Regions from separate parts of the Homo sapiens genome. Here regions 2 and 3 are each linked to region 1. Evidence: promoter capture Hi-C in human tissues and cell types (Jung and others, 2019). All regions are on one chromosome and are shown on one strand. Each heading gives the region's core, a stretch centred on a gene start or on the middle of the fragment in contact. The rest is flanking DNA. Distances are from core to core; before and after follow the strand shown. Region 1 holds the start of ACVR1 (activin A receptor type 1). Region 2 has its middle 63 kb from the start of ACVR1. Region 3 overlaps ACVR1 (activin A receptor type 1).

Region 1 (4,104 bases), core at 661-3,160:
ATGAAGCTGCATGGCGAGGCCGATGTCTGAGGTCAGCACAAGTCTAGTGTCTGCTGGCTGCCCAAGCCTGGGCCCCTGGCCAGCAACCCACCTCCAGAGACAAGTGCCAGGACATACTATAGTGTTTCCATTTAAGGCCCGCCACTTGGATCAGCCCATCTCTGAAATTTCTTAACACCACCTTTCCAGGAAGAATTTTTTTGGGGAAAAGGGAGGTGGTGTCTATTTTTTGCCACCGCCTTCCCTTGGGCTGTCAGAGCAATCTGCATCTCTGGGACAGGATTCTTTAAAACCACTGGGTTATGTCTCAATTCATGGGCCTCTTCTCAAAAATATGTAAAAACATGTATGGAACGGGCCCCTTTGCCCATCATCTAACTCTTATCATACATCCCTCAAAAAAGAAAGAAAAGCCCAATAAAATTGACAAGTCCATTGTATTACCTTGCTGCCTCTCTCCAAAAGCCAAATTCATGACAACTTTTTAACCAAGACTTTTCTTCTGTTACTAAGTGGAACGTTTTCTTCTCTAAGTAGCTTTTCTCCCATGCAAGCAGCGTTCAAATCTCCAGGGGAAAGGAGGGGTGGGGAGGGGGTGGGAGACTATCTGGCACAAACTGGACAGAGCCGAGCCAGTCTAGAACCCGACGGAAGTTACTGAATCCAGCGGCCCCAGAGGCCCACATCTCTTCTTAGTGCGCCCGAGGTTCTAGCCTCACTGTTTTGGTTACAGTGTTGAAGGAAGGGTTTTAAACTTGGCAAAGTACCGTGCAACATCTGTAACCACATTTGCCTTCTGGGGATCGGAAGATGAATCCCACATTCCTGGCTTTGAAGCTTTTTGAAACTGCAGCTAGGAAGAACCGAGGGAGGGAGGGAGTTGAGCAGAGTTTATTGGCTGTCTCTCCAGCAGAAAATTCCTCTTGGAAGAGATGGATATTTTGAGGGTGGGGGAAATTCGCCTATCTATCTCCTTACTCTCTACAAGCTCAGCTAGGAAGGTAAGCCCCGTGGCCCCGCGGCCAGATCGATTTACAAGTCAGAGTCGCACACCCTGAAGGAGTTCACAACACACACACACACACACACGCACTCACACACACCCCAATACAAACCTGAGACCCCCGCTCCACGCCTCTGCCCCCCCACCCCCCATATCCCACCAGCAGTTCAGGCCCAAAGCAAGACAGTTTTGTTCCGCGGCTGCTTCCCCCACGGAGAGGGGATCAAGCTTGGGGGAGAAAGGAATGAAAGCGAGGGGGAGGCACCGCAGACGCCCACCCTGCCACCCCCGATCCCTGCCTCTTCTCCCGCTAGGCTACCTCCTCCCTCAGTCCTCCCGGCTCCAGCAGGCGCGGCCGGCGACCTGCGCTCACCTCGGGTCCCGCCGCGGCCGGGGGCTGAGCCGGGGGAGGCGGAGTGCGAGGCAGCCGGGCGCTGCAGGTCGGCGCGGCGCGGGGCGGCGCGGGGCGGGGCGGGGCGGTGCAGCCGGCGAGGGAGCCCGGAACTCTGCGGGGCCGGGAGCCGGGGGCCGAGGGCCGGCCCAGAGCGGCGGCGGCTGCGGTGGCTGCAGCGGAGCGGTGCGTGGGGCCGGGAGCTTCCCGGCCCTGGGGCCGGCGCGGCTGGCCGAGGAGCAGGCTGGCAGCGGCAGCGGCGGCAGCGGCAGCCACCCGGGGGAAAGAGCCGGGGGAGGGCGGGGAGGCGGGGTGAAGAGGAGGAGGAAGGGGAGGAGGGCGGGCAGAATAAACTTCCCGAGGCGCAGAGGCTCGGGCTGGGAGCACGACCGCGGGCGGGGCGGGCGGACCAGCTGGGCTTGCCCCCGGGGGCGGCGGGGGAGACCGTCACAGAGAGTAGAAAAGTTCCCCCTGCGCCGAGGGGGAGGCTGCGGCGGCGGCGGCGGCTGCAAAGAGCAGGAGCCGGAGCGGGAGGAGCGGGAGGAGGAGGAGGAGGAAGTGGCTGCGGAGCGCTCGGCCAATGAGTGTCTGGAGCTGTGATTAACCAGGCAGCAACACATCATTTCCTCCCGGCGCGGATCCAGGGAGCCGGGAGGGGAGAGAGGAGGCGGCGGGGCGGGGCCGTCCCCGCGCCCCCTGCAGGCGCCCGGCCGAGGGCGAGCCCGCCGAGCCCCGCCGAGCCTGACCGCGCCGCCCCCGGCGCGCCTGGCGCTGTCTGGCCGGTCGCTTGGCCCGGGTGGAAGCTATGAGCGCGCCGCCAGCGGGGCTCCTCGGAGGCGGCGGGGCAGGCCCGAGCTGGGCTCCTGTGGCCGGGGTGGGAGGAGAAGAGGCCGCGCGGCACGGGTGAGTGCCCAGGTAGGCGCGGGCGGGGCCGTCTGGACAGCTCCCGAGGGCGCGCGGGGCAGGCGGGCGGACGGGCGGGCATCCCGGGCCCGGCGACTGCGGGCGGCCACCTACTCGAGCCCTGCATGTCAGACTTGGGCTGGATTCTCAGAGAGAAGCCTTAGCATTCTCATCCAGGCCATCTCTGACCTGCCTTCAGATCCCCTTCCACTTTGCTCATTTCCTTGCAAGGTCTAGGGTTATGACAGAGCTTGCCATGTTCGCCTTTGGCTTCCTTAGTAACAGAAATAAGCATGGAGGGGCTTCTGCAGTGATCTAGCCCTGTCCTAGGCGCCATGGGAGCTTACAGTGGAAATGCAGGAACATTCTCCGCTGCAGAGAGTCTGATAACCTCGGTCCTTAGATACACAAAAACACCCCAGTGTGCTAATATTACCCAGAGCATCAAAAAGGCATGCAAGGATCAAATTTTGCATGGTTCCTGCTGAGTGTAAAGGAAAGCACTAAGCCATTTTCTCTGCCCTCTAGAAGCTTATAATGTACAGTCCTATCACAAAGCAGAATAAAAACATGAAACCTATAAATGGGAATGCCATAAAGTATTTTTATCTCTACAGGTTCATTCATGCAGAGGGCATTTATTGGGTGACTGCAGTACTGCAAAAGGTTGCAAAGGAAATGGAAGATCTGGTCCCTGCAGGTTGGGAGTTTACAATCTAATTAGAAATACAAGGCATATATACGTGAAAAAACTAGAATCCCCAGCTGTAAGCAAAAGGATGGAGTAGGTGGGAGCATTTTTTTCATAAAGAGAGCTTTGTACCTGTATGATTGGTGAGGAGCAGGAGAGGCAAGTTCAGTACCAATCAAGGCAAGAGCACCTATATGTATCCCTGCTCTATAGAATGATGTAACAGGGCCCTCATTGTCACTTGGCTGAAGTGTCAGCTCTGCCACTTACAAACTGTTTTGAACTGGGGCACATTTTTAACCTAAGAAGGGAATACAGGTTGTCTCGTGAGGTGGTTGTGCAGTTCAAATGAGATTACAAACGTGAAAGCTTGTGAAGCTCAATGATGTACATTCATGGAGTCCTCATTGTACAAACTGGCCCTTCTTGGTAACCTTTAGAGTTCCCTCCCAGGCTGTAAGCTGCAAGAGGGCAGGGACCAGGTCTGATTGTATTCATCATGTATCACAATGTTTAGCAGAAGGGTTCATGTGGGTGTTCAATAAAGTTTTGCTGAGTAGGTAAATAAATGAATTAATGAATCCTGTTATGCTCTGAACAGTTCCTATTATTTGTTCCTTAAGCAGTTCCTTCAATAGTGGTCTTATTGTATGGCTGGCTCAGTGAAAAACACTCTAACTCAACCTCCTGTGACTTACTAGTGTGCCAGGAGACTGGGAGAATTCTGGATGGTACTGTCAGAGGCATTCAAACCAGAGAAACTCCATTTTGAATGAGGGCTAGGAAAATGAGACTGAGACTGGCTGGGCTGCATTCTCGGGAAGTTAGGCTTTCTTAGCCTCTAGATGTTTACAGCTAAGGGAACAAATTAATAGTGTTTACTAAACAAACCCAGACTTGGGAGTGTCCAGATATCCCGATATCTGGAGAACAAAGGCATTCCTAATTTTGCTTTAAAGATAATATTGATTCTTGCAAAATATAGTAATTTATTTATTTATCACAAACTCTTGTAGCAGAGCACATCTCCCTATATATACGAGCGATGTACCTAGCATGGAATCGTTCCTCCTCTTACTTTCGGCAACATCCTACTTTGTCTATGGAGTAGGTGTC
Region 2 (4,104 bases), core at 559-3,058, 63 kb after region 1:
GAGGCTGAGGCAGGAGAATCACTTGAACCTGGGAGGCGAAGGTTCCAATGAGCCAAGATCATGCCACTGTGCACTCCAGCCTGGGTGACAAAGTGAGACTCTGTCTAAAAAAAAAAAAATACTTCCTAGAATTGGAAAGCTGCTTCCAAAATAAGGGGTACGGATGCTGGTTGTCTTAGTTGGCTTGGGCACCAACTATAACAAACACCATAGACTGGTGATTTAAATAACAGAGACCCTTTTCACAGTTCTGGAGGTTGGAAGACCAAGATCAGGGTGCTGGCATGGATGGCATGGTTGTCTTAGTTGGCTTGGGCACCAACTATAACAAACACCATAGACTGGTGATTTAAATAACAGAGACCCTTTTCACAGTTCTGGAGGTTGGAAGACCAAGATCAGGGTGCTGGCATGGATGGCATGGTTGTCTTAGTTGGCTTGGGCACCAACTATAACAAATACCATAGACTGGTGATTTAAATAACAGAGACCCTTTTCACAGTTCTGGAGGTTGGAAGACCAAGATCAGGGTGCTGGCATGGATGAGTTCTGGTGAGGACACACTCTTGGCTTGCAGAAAGCTGTCATCTTGCTGTGTCCTCATGTGGCAGAGAGAGCGCTCTGGTAACTTTTTCTTCTTTTTATAAAGGCATTAATCCCATCAAGAGGACTCTTCTCTGATGACCTTATCTAAACCGAATTATCTCCCAAGGGCCTTATCTCCATATACCATCACATTGGGGGGTTAGGGTTTCAACATGTGAATTTTGGGAGGACACAATTTAATCCACAGTACTGGCCTAGCAAAAACATCAGCTGTCTACTACATGGCTAAAGTAGTCTGCATCTTATCAGAGAGTTCCAAAGGTCACAGACTGAAAGATATATTATAGTTTCACTATCAGCTTGCTTAGTGACTTGGGGAACTTAACGTCACAATTCTATCTCTTCCTTCTTTCACGCTTGCAAAATAGTGTTTGAGACACATACTTTTTTTTTTTTTTTTGAGTCAGAGTCTCGCTCTGTCACCCAGACTGGAGTGCAGTGGCATGATCTAGGCTGACTGCAACCTCTGCCTTCCAGGTTCCAGCGATTCTCCTGTCTCAGCCTGCCAAGTAGCTGGGATTACAGGCATGTGCCACCACACCCAGCTAATTTTTGTATTTTTAGTAAAGACGGGGTTTCGGCATGTTGGCCAGGCTGGTCTCAAACCCCTGACCTCAGGTGATCCACCCGCCTCGGCCTCCCAAAGTGTTAGGACTACAGGTTTGAGCCACTGCACCCGACTCCTCACTCTTTTTTCATGTCTGAACCTGCTCCCCTGGCCCAGGGTGGGCATTTGTCCCAGGCAAAGCCAATGATTGTGGCTCTGTCCCACCAGGGTGAGATTAAGTCTGCTTGGAATTCAAACTCTGAGTGGAAACCCACAGAGGTGAAAGGTCATCTAGATAGTTATCCAATGATAACTGAGAAAAGCACCAAGAACTGAGTTCTTCACACTTGAACTGCTGTTATTTCTGTCCTTACCAACCCTGTTTTTGCAGCTCTCCTGATTTGTGAGCCAGCCCAGAGGCCTTCCAATTAATCTTGTTTGCTTGTGGTGGATATAATCAAAGAGCCTTAGTGAGTCAAGCTACCTCAAAAGTTTGCTTTGAAATTAAATAGGACAATACATGAGAGGCAATTAGCACATTACAAGGGATATAATAAATGCTCAAGAAACGTTAGCTAGTATTATTACTACAATTTGACTTCCTACTTGGATTCTACATGGTTACACAAATAAATCCCTACTTATTACTGAGAAGTCAGCTATAGGGAGTTGCTCATGTGAGAAGCAGACTTCCTGTGAACTGAAGCCTACACATCAGTGTCGACTCTTATGCCTTTAGTCAGGGTAAGAATCAAATGCAGAAATTCTACTCAATAGGTTGAGTTGGGGAGGCAGAGCTCGACTTTGAAGCCACCAATTATTTTCTCTAATTGGTGTCTTAATACATACCATAGCTCTCTTCTGATTGACAGATACACGAAACTGCTATTGTTTCTCAATTTTGGGTTCTCTAGAAGCAGACTGCTCTTTGAAAAACCAGAATTCCCAACATTAACTTCATGTGTGTTGCATGTTTTAATTCAGTCCATCTGCAGTAGGCTGAATGGCTCCCAAGCATGTCAAGTTGCAACCTCTGGGACCTGTAAGTGTTAATTGATAAGGATAAAGAGTTTCTATAGATTTGATTAAGTTAAGGATCTTGGGATGGGGAGATTATCCAAATTACATTTACGGTGGACCTTAAATGGAATCTCAAGGGCCTTTATAGGAGGGAGGGAGAGGGAAGTTTTATCTACACAGAGAGATGATGTGAAGTCATAGGAGAATTGGGGTGACATGGCCACAAGTCAAGGAATACTGCCAGCCACCAGAAACTGGAAGAGTCAAGGCCCCTAGAGCCTTTAGGGGGAGCATGTTCCTGCCAACACCCTGATTTCTGCCTTATGAATCCAATTTTGGAATTCTGACCTCCAGAACTGTGAGAGAATAAATTCCTGTTGTTTGAAACCACCAGGTCTGTGGTAATTTGTTACTATAGTAGCTACAGAAAACCAATATGTGATTCTAAATACCTTTGTCAAATGTATTGAAAATCTGTCTAATCAATTGTTTTAACAGACAGAAACTTAACTTTATTTATATAGATTATTTTGCCCTTTCCTACCATGCCGATGTTCCAAAAAGCTGTGAAGAGCTGTTTCTGCACAGATACACCTCCTCCTGTGGTGTCACTCATGACTGTCCCTAGTTGAATCATCCTTCTGCAATGTACCCAGGTTCATATGCCTCTCATGTGGTTCCCATGGTCCCTGGATCAGAGCTGCAATCCCCAAGCCCTTGGGCCCTTTCTGAAGGAGGAATGAAAGAGTATGGCTGACTACGGACAGTAAGCCCCCTTCTCCTCATTCCCACCTTCTCCAGGGGCAAGGAAATGACTCATCGCACAAGCTCTCAATGCCCATCACCCATTCATTCTCTCCTCTTGGGTTGGGTGAAGTGAGGTCAAACTTCTTAGGAGAGAATAAAGGACATGGCTAAAGTTTTCTTCCCTCTTCCAGTTCTCTTCCCCTACGTTGATTGATCCTTTTACTTTTCCTAATACTTTAAAATGTTATACAAATATTTGCAAAAAATATTTAGACATGGAAGAATGTATAGAAAATTGTGCAAATTTCTTTCTCCAAAGCTTTTCATTGTACTCTCCTTCATGTATTTAACCAGTATTAAAAGTTTGATATTTTCTTCTAGAGATTTCTTTAAATTCATATTCACTTCATTGGATGTACATGCATGTGTGTACACTTGTACACATACAGACAGAGAGGGCTTTTTTCTTAATTAGTAATAATAATGGCAAGAAAGGAAATGCAGAATTAAAGCAATTCTGTTATGCTAAGGTTAGGGCCAAGATTAGGAAAAACAGGACACTGTCCCTTGAGCTGGGGAGATTTGGGTGAATGTCATTTAAGATTTTGAACCCCTAGGCTTCTTTGAATTCTCCTGGTCTGCAGAAGTGACCATCCCTCTCCAAGAGTTAGCACATCCTTCTTGCTTGAAGACAATGGAGAGGGCTTTTCCTGTAGGCACATGATTTGCCTCCTGATTTGCTCCCATTTCCCTTCCTGGCCACTAGATCTATAACCAGGGTTAAGTTCCAACGTAATACAGCTTCAGATTTGCTGGGCTTGATAAGGATGAAAAGAAGCTCTACCCAAAGGAATTGCAAGACCTAAACAGAATGTATTGGTTGGCATTATTGGCACTGGATTCTGAGGGTGCACCATTAAGCAATCTGGAACAATATATTGGATAGGAGAGACTTTATTTATTTGGGGCACTCTCCAAAAATACAAGATTCAATACTCTGTCAAGGATCTGAGGAGACGGTAGCAACTCACTACTAGTATAGATCCCAGAAGCATGCAGAAAATAACAAACCATACTAAAGTTGAAATGCCAGAATTGCTATGGTAGGCAGTGGAGGAAAGGATTAAAAGCTTAAGGAAATGGGCATGCTGAAATAGGCATTAAATATCTATGTAATGCTGAAA
Region 3 (4,104 bases), core at 910-3,409, 45 kb before region 1:
AAGGGAGCAAAAGAATACATCCAGGTTCCCAAGACTGAAAGCATCCTGTCCATGTCACCCACCATCCCAAATCTACTAATCTTTCTTTATGTCCTATCTTCTGCAATGGAACCACTGAAGAATCTTGTAGACAAAGCCAGAAACCAAGTTTGCCTTACAAACCCCATCGCTGCCTACAACCCAGCCCAGGACCTCTCCCACCAGCAGTGGCCCAACTGACTCCTTCAAGGTCTCCTCTACATCCCTGCCATGAGTGTAGTAAATTGTTCATTGAGTAACGCTCACTAGTGCCTCTCCTCTGCTTAAAGCCATCAATGGTTCTCCTAGCTGGTGTAGATTTCTTGATTTTCATGATCTGGCCCCAGACATCTCCAACATCATCGAGTTATCATCTCATAGGTACCCTCACCCTAATTGTATCTTACAGCTCCCTGGGGACACCATGACCATGTTCACCTTCTGCCTTTGCACTTGTCTGCCTGAAATGTCTTTTTTCATCTGGCAAACTCCTATGCTTCAGGATCAGCCCCAGCATCACCTCCCAAAGCCCCCATGTCTACATCCTGTCTGAAATATTAACACATGCCCCCTCATCTGTTTTTCCCAAACTTAACTATTGTGGCCCTTAAAAGTGCATTTTAATTTTTAAATTTTACTATTTCCCTGGTGAGTCTGTGGACTCTTCAAAGTAAGAGTATTTTTCACCTATGAAACATCAAGGATAGTCATAAACAATAGGCCAAGAGGCTGGGCGCAGTGGCTCACGCCTGTAATCCCAACACTCTGTCTGGGAAGCCAAGGCAGGTGGATCACCTGAAGTCAGGAGTTCGAGACCAGCCTGGCCAACATGGTGAAATGCCATCTGTACTAAAAATACAAAAATTAGCCAGGTGTGGTAGCAGGCTCCTGTAATCCCAGCTACTTGGGAGGCTGAGGCAGGAGAATTGCTTGAACCCAGGAGGCGGAGGTTTCAGTGAGCCGAGATCATGCCATTGCACTCCAGCCTAGGTGACAAGAGCAAACTCCGTCTCAAAATAAAATTAAATAAAAGGCCCTTCATAAATGTTGATAATAAATGATGTACCCTGATAATGGATTCAAAGCAGAAAAGATACCATCCAAGAGAAATATGAACAATTTAAAAAATGAAAAAGAAATAATAATGCTAATGGAAAAAAGGAGGTAGACCTACTGGAACCCATTTTCAGTGTTGTCATGGCTTTTAACTCAAACTAAAAAACAAAACAAACTTCCCCAAACCCTAAGTTATAGACAAAGAGAACTACCAACGTTTCTGATTTCATACAAAAAGACAATGTGTAAACTAAGTGTATATACTCAACCACAGCTTCCTTGTGACTTACATTTGAAAACAAAGTATTCCCTACTCTAACATTTTAGGACATAATCTTTTTTCTAAATTTTATATACACACAGAGAGAGAAAACAAAACTTGAAATACTTATATACCATGCTAACAATGTAATATTACTGGAAACTAAATTGTTATCAATAAAATGTAAGAAGGGAGATGCTTTGTTTCACCAAAAAAAAAAAAAAAAAATGTAATTTTTTCCCAGAGAATTATTCCCAAGATGGTCACTTGGACTCATGCCCCCATACAATTCCCTTGGCTAAGCTCTCACTGGCTGGCCTGCTTCCAGATGTTGTCAGTCAAGGTGACTGAGGGAGCTCAAGTAGGAAAAAGAAGTGTTCTTCCTCTCACCATGACAATGTTACATTTGCTACATTTTTTGTCTTAGAAACAGGGTCTCACTCTGTTGCTCAAGTTGGAGTGGAGTGGCAGAAACATAACTCACTGTAGCCTTGAATTCCTGGTCTCAAACAATTCTCCCACCTTAGCCTCCCAAAGCACTAGGATTACAGGAATGAGACACCACACCTGGCCTTTACCTTCTTAAAGGTTTTTCCCCACCCCACTACCCATTTTCTCAGCCCCAGACTGTTTATATCACACTGGGAAGAAAAGACAAATAACACACATTGCTATATAATGTTATTCAATTTACTTTAATAAGCATGAAAAAGGTAACAGAAAGGAGGCAATGGCCAAAGACAAATGTTAAAGAAAAGAGTAGGAAGATCCAAGGAATAATAAATGGCTGTTATTAGCATTTGCTGGCTGGGATCACTTTTACACATGAAATTGCTTAATGCGTGAGTCATCTGAACTCATGACTGCACTGAATCATTTCATGTGTTCAAGCAAACCTGCAATGAAAATAACCCAGAAGTCTTGAGATGCCAATGACTCTCCAATCAAAATAATGAGGGTGGCAGATCTACCCGAGAAAAATCAAAAAACAAATAGGTGCTTAGAAAACAATTTTAAATCCTATTGTTTTCATAAAACAAGTGGGCAGAGTAAAGTGAGATTTTTTAGTTTACCAAAATTGGGACTGGGTTAAAATTTCAAAAGTTGAGAATTCACTGTTCTGGAGGATTCTGTGAGAGTCAACACTGGTGTCTACTCTGTGCCCACTGCAGGGTTGGGCCAGGAACTGGTTTCTACCCTCACTCAGTTCACAGGATGATCAGGAGAGCCCAATCCTTGGCTTCTACTCCAATAATGTTAGCTTTAAAATTAGTCTTACATGCTAATAGTTTCTCTGTCAGGGTGGTGAAAATGTTCTAACATTAGATAGTGGTGTCAGTTGAACAGTTCTGTGGCTACACTAAAAACCACTGAATAGTACATTATAAAAGGGTGAATGTTTTTGGTATATGAACTAACTCAATAAAACTGTTATTTTAAAAATCAGTTTGAAAGGTCTTACAGCCTTTTTTGTACAACTTAGACCTCGAGTACATGCTGGGCTGTACTCCTGGACCTAGCTTCACCACCTGGACACAGCTTGTCTCCCAGTTAATTTTTGTGAAAAGAGCAAAAGCTCTGGAATCGCACAGCTTGAGGAATGAACCTAGGCATGTTACTTCCCAGGCATTGGTATCTTAAGCACATTACTCTCTGCCTGTGTCCCATCTATAAAACAGGCAGACACCACCCCCCAATCAGATGAGAACTACTACTGAGAATCTGCAAATCACCGCCAACTTCAGACTAACATTAGTAAATGGCAGATAATTAAAATGAAATTAAATAATTAAAATGAAACAGCCTCTACCAAAGGACACGTGAGGTATCAGAAGAAACTAACAGGAAAGACAAAAACGAGAAAGGATGATGGCAAGTCAAGAGTCAGGACTGAGGCCAGCCTACCTGGAATCCTCTTTGGGATTCCAGTGATGCTTTGCAGTAGGGGTGATATGGGGTGGGAAGATGGGGATGTGTCTGCTCCCAGAATTATGTGCTATTATCAAGATGACCTTGTCTATGATACATAAATCTCTGGACTCTTTAATGCAAGACCTTTTATATGAGTAACCACAAAACAGAGACATTTTCTATACTTTACTCTCCTCAAGTGTCACTCAGCATTCAGTCCACTAATGGAATTTTAGCCTCTTGATTTGGGTTACTATTAATTAGAACACATAGCTTTGCATCAGAATTCATTTTTTATAGATTAATTCTATAACATAAAACATGCCTGAATTTGACTGTTAGGAGTCTTTTCTTCACAAGCCTCAAGATTCCACACCTGTGATTAATTTACATAAGCACAGGTTGAAACATCAGCTTTTTGATCATTTGTGATATTGCAACTCTTAAGAAGCAACTTACCCGACAATTAATACAATCTATATTTATCAATAACCCAAATTCCCAGAATTTGGGCCAGAATTTCTAATGTGAAATTAATTCTTCATAGCCATTTTAACACCATTCTCATTTAAAATGTGCTCTATTTATCCAAGCAACAATGAAAGGAATATGTGTGTATAAACCCACACATATATAAGCCTTTTGTCACACATTTCTACCCTTCAAAAGCAATTCAAGAAGAGCTAGAGACTAGCAAATTGTCAGCCCTATCCTTCCTCAGGTAGAGGTGATACTACAGCCAGCTGAATTCTCTCAGAAGTTCCTCCAGAGACCAGTAAGTTAACAAACTGTCTCCATACTGCACAGGTTGGCTTCCTGTATCTTTGTATATCCTGATGTCCAGCATATACTTGAGC

The links. Contacts are between HindIII fragments. The study calls those that stand out against the background at their distance.
Region 2: a contact is called between a fragment that was not itself captured here and the fragment with the promoter of ACVR1 in region 1, in 2 of the 25 tissues and cell types used here (mesendoderm cells and thymus).
Region 3: a fragment that was not itself captured here is called in contact with the fragment with the promoter of ACVR1 in region 1 in 2 of the 25 tissues and cell types used here (IMR-90 fibroblasts and hippocampus).

What each region holds. Positions count from the first base shown.
Region 1 is chr2:157,874,420-157,878,523 of GRCh38, forward strand. It overlaps ACVR1 (activin A receptor type 1), which reads right to left and starts at 1,911. Exons shown (of 11, transcript NM_001111067.4): 1 at 1,377-1,911. LOC105373714 (a long non-coding RNA gene) reads left to right here and starts at 2,165. Exons shown (of 2, transcript XR_923518.3): 1 at 2,165-2,297. RefSeq lists silencers at 1,383-1,592, 1,683-1,732, 1,743-1,962, 2,023-2,262, 2,283-2,472 and an enhancer at 1,858-2,152. The HindIII fragment of the contact is 2,058 bases long and covers 1,035-3,092 here.
Region 2 is chr2:157,937,339-157,941,442 of GRCh38, forward strand. No RefSeq gene overlaps it. Among named protein-coding and RNA genes, the nearest start is that of ACVR1, 63 kb to the left of the region's middle. The HindIII fragment of the contact is 3,671 bases long and covers 1-3,644 here.
Region 3 is chr2:157,829,188-157,833,291 of GRCh38, forward strand. All of the region lies in intron 1 of ACVR1 (activin A receptor type 1), which reads right to left. Among named protein-coding and RNA genes, the nearest start is that of ACVR1, 45 kb to the right of the region's middle. RefSeq lists an enhancer at 1,848-2,349. The HindIII fragment of the contact is 9,856 bases long and covers 1-4,104 here.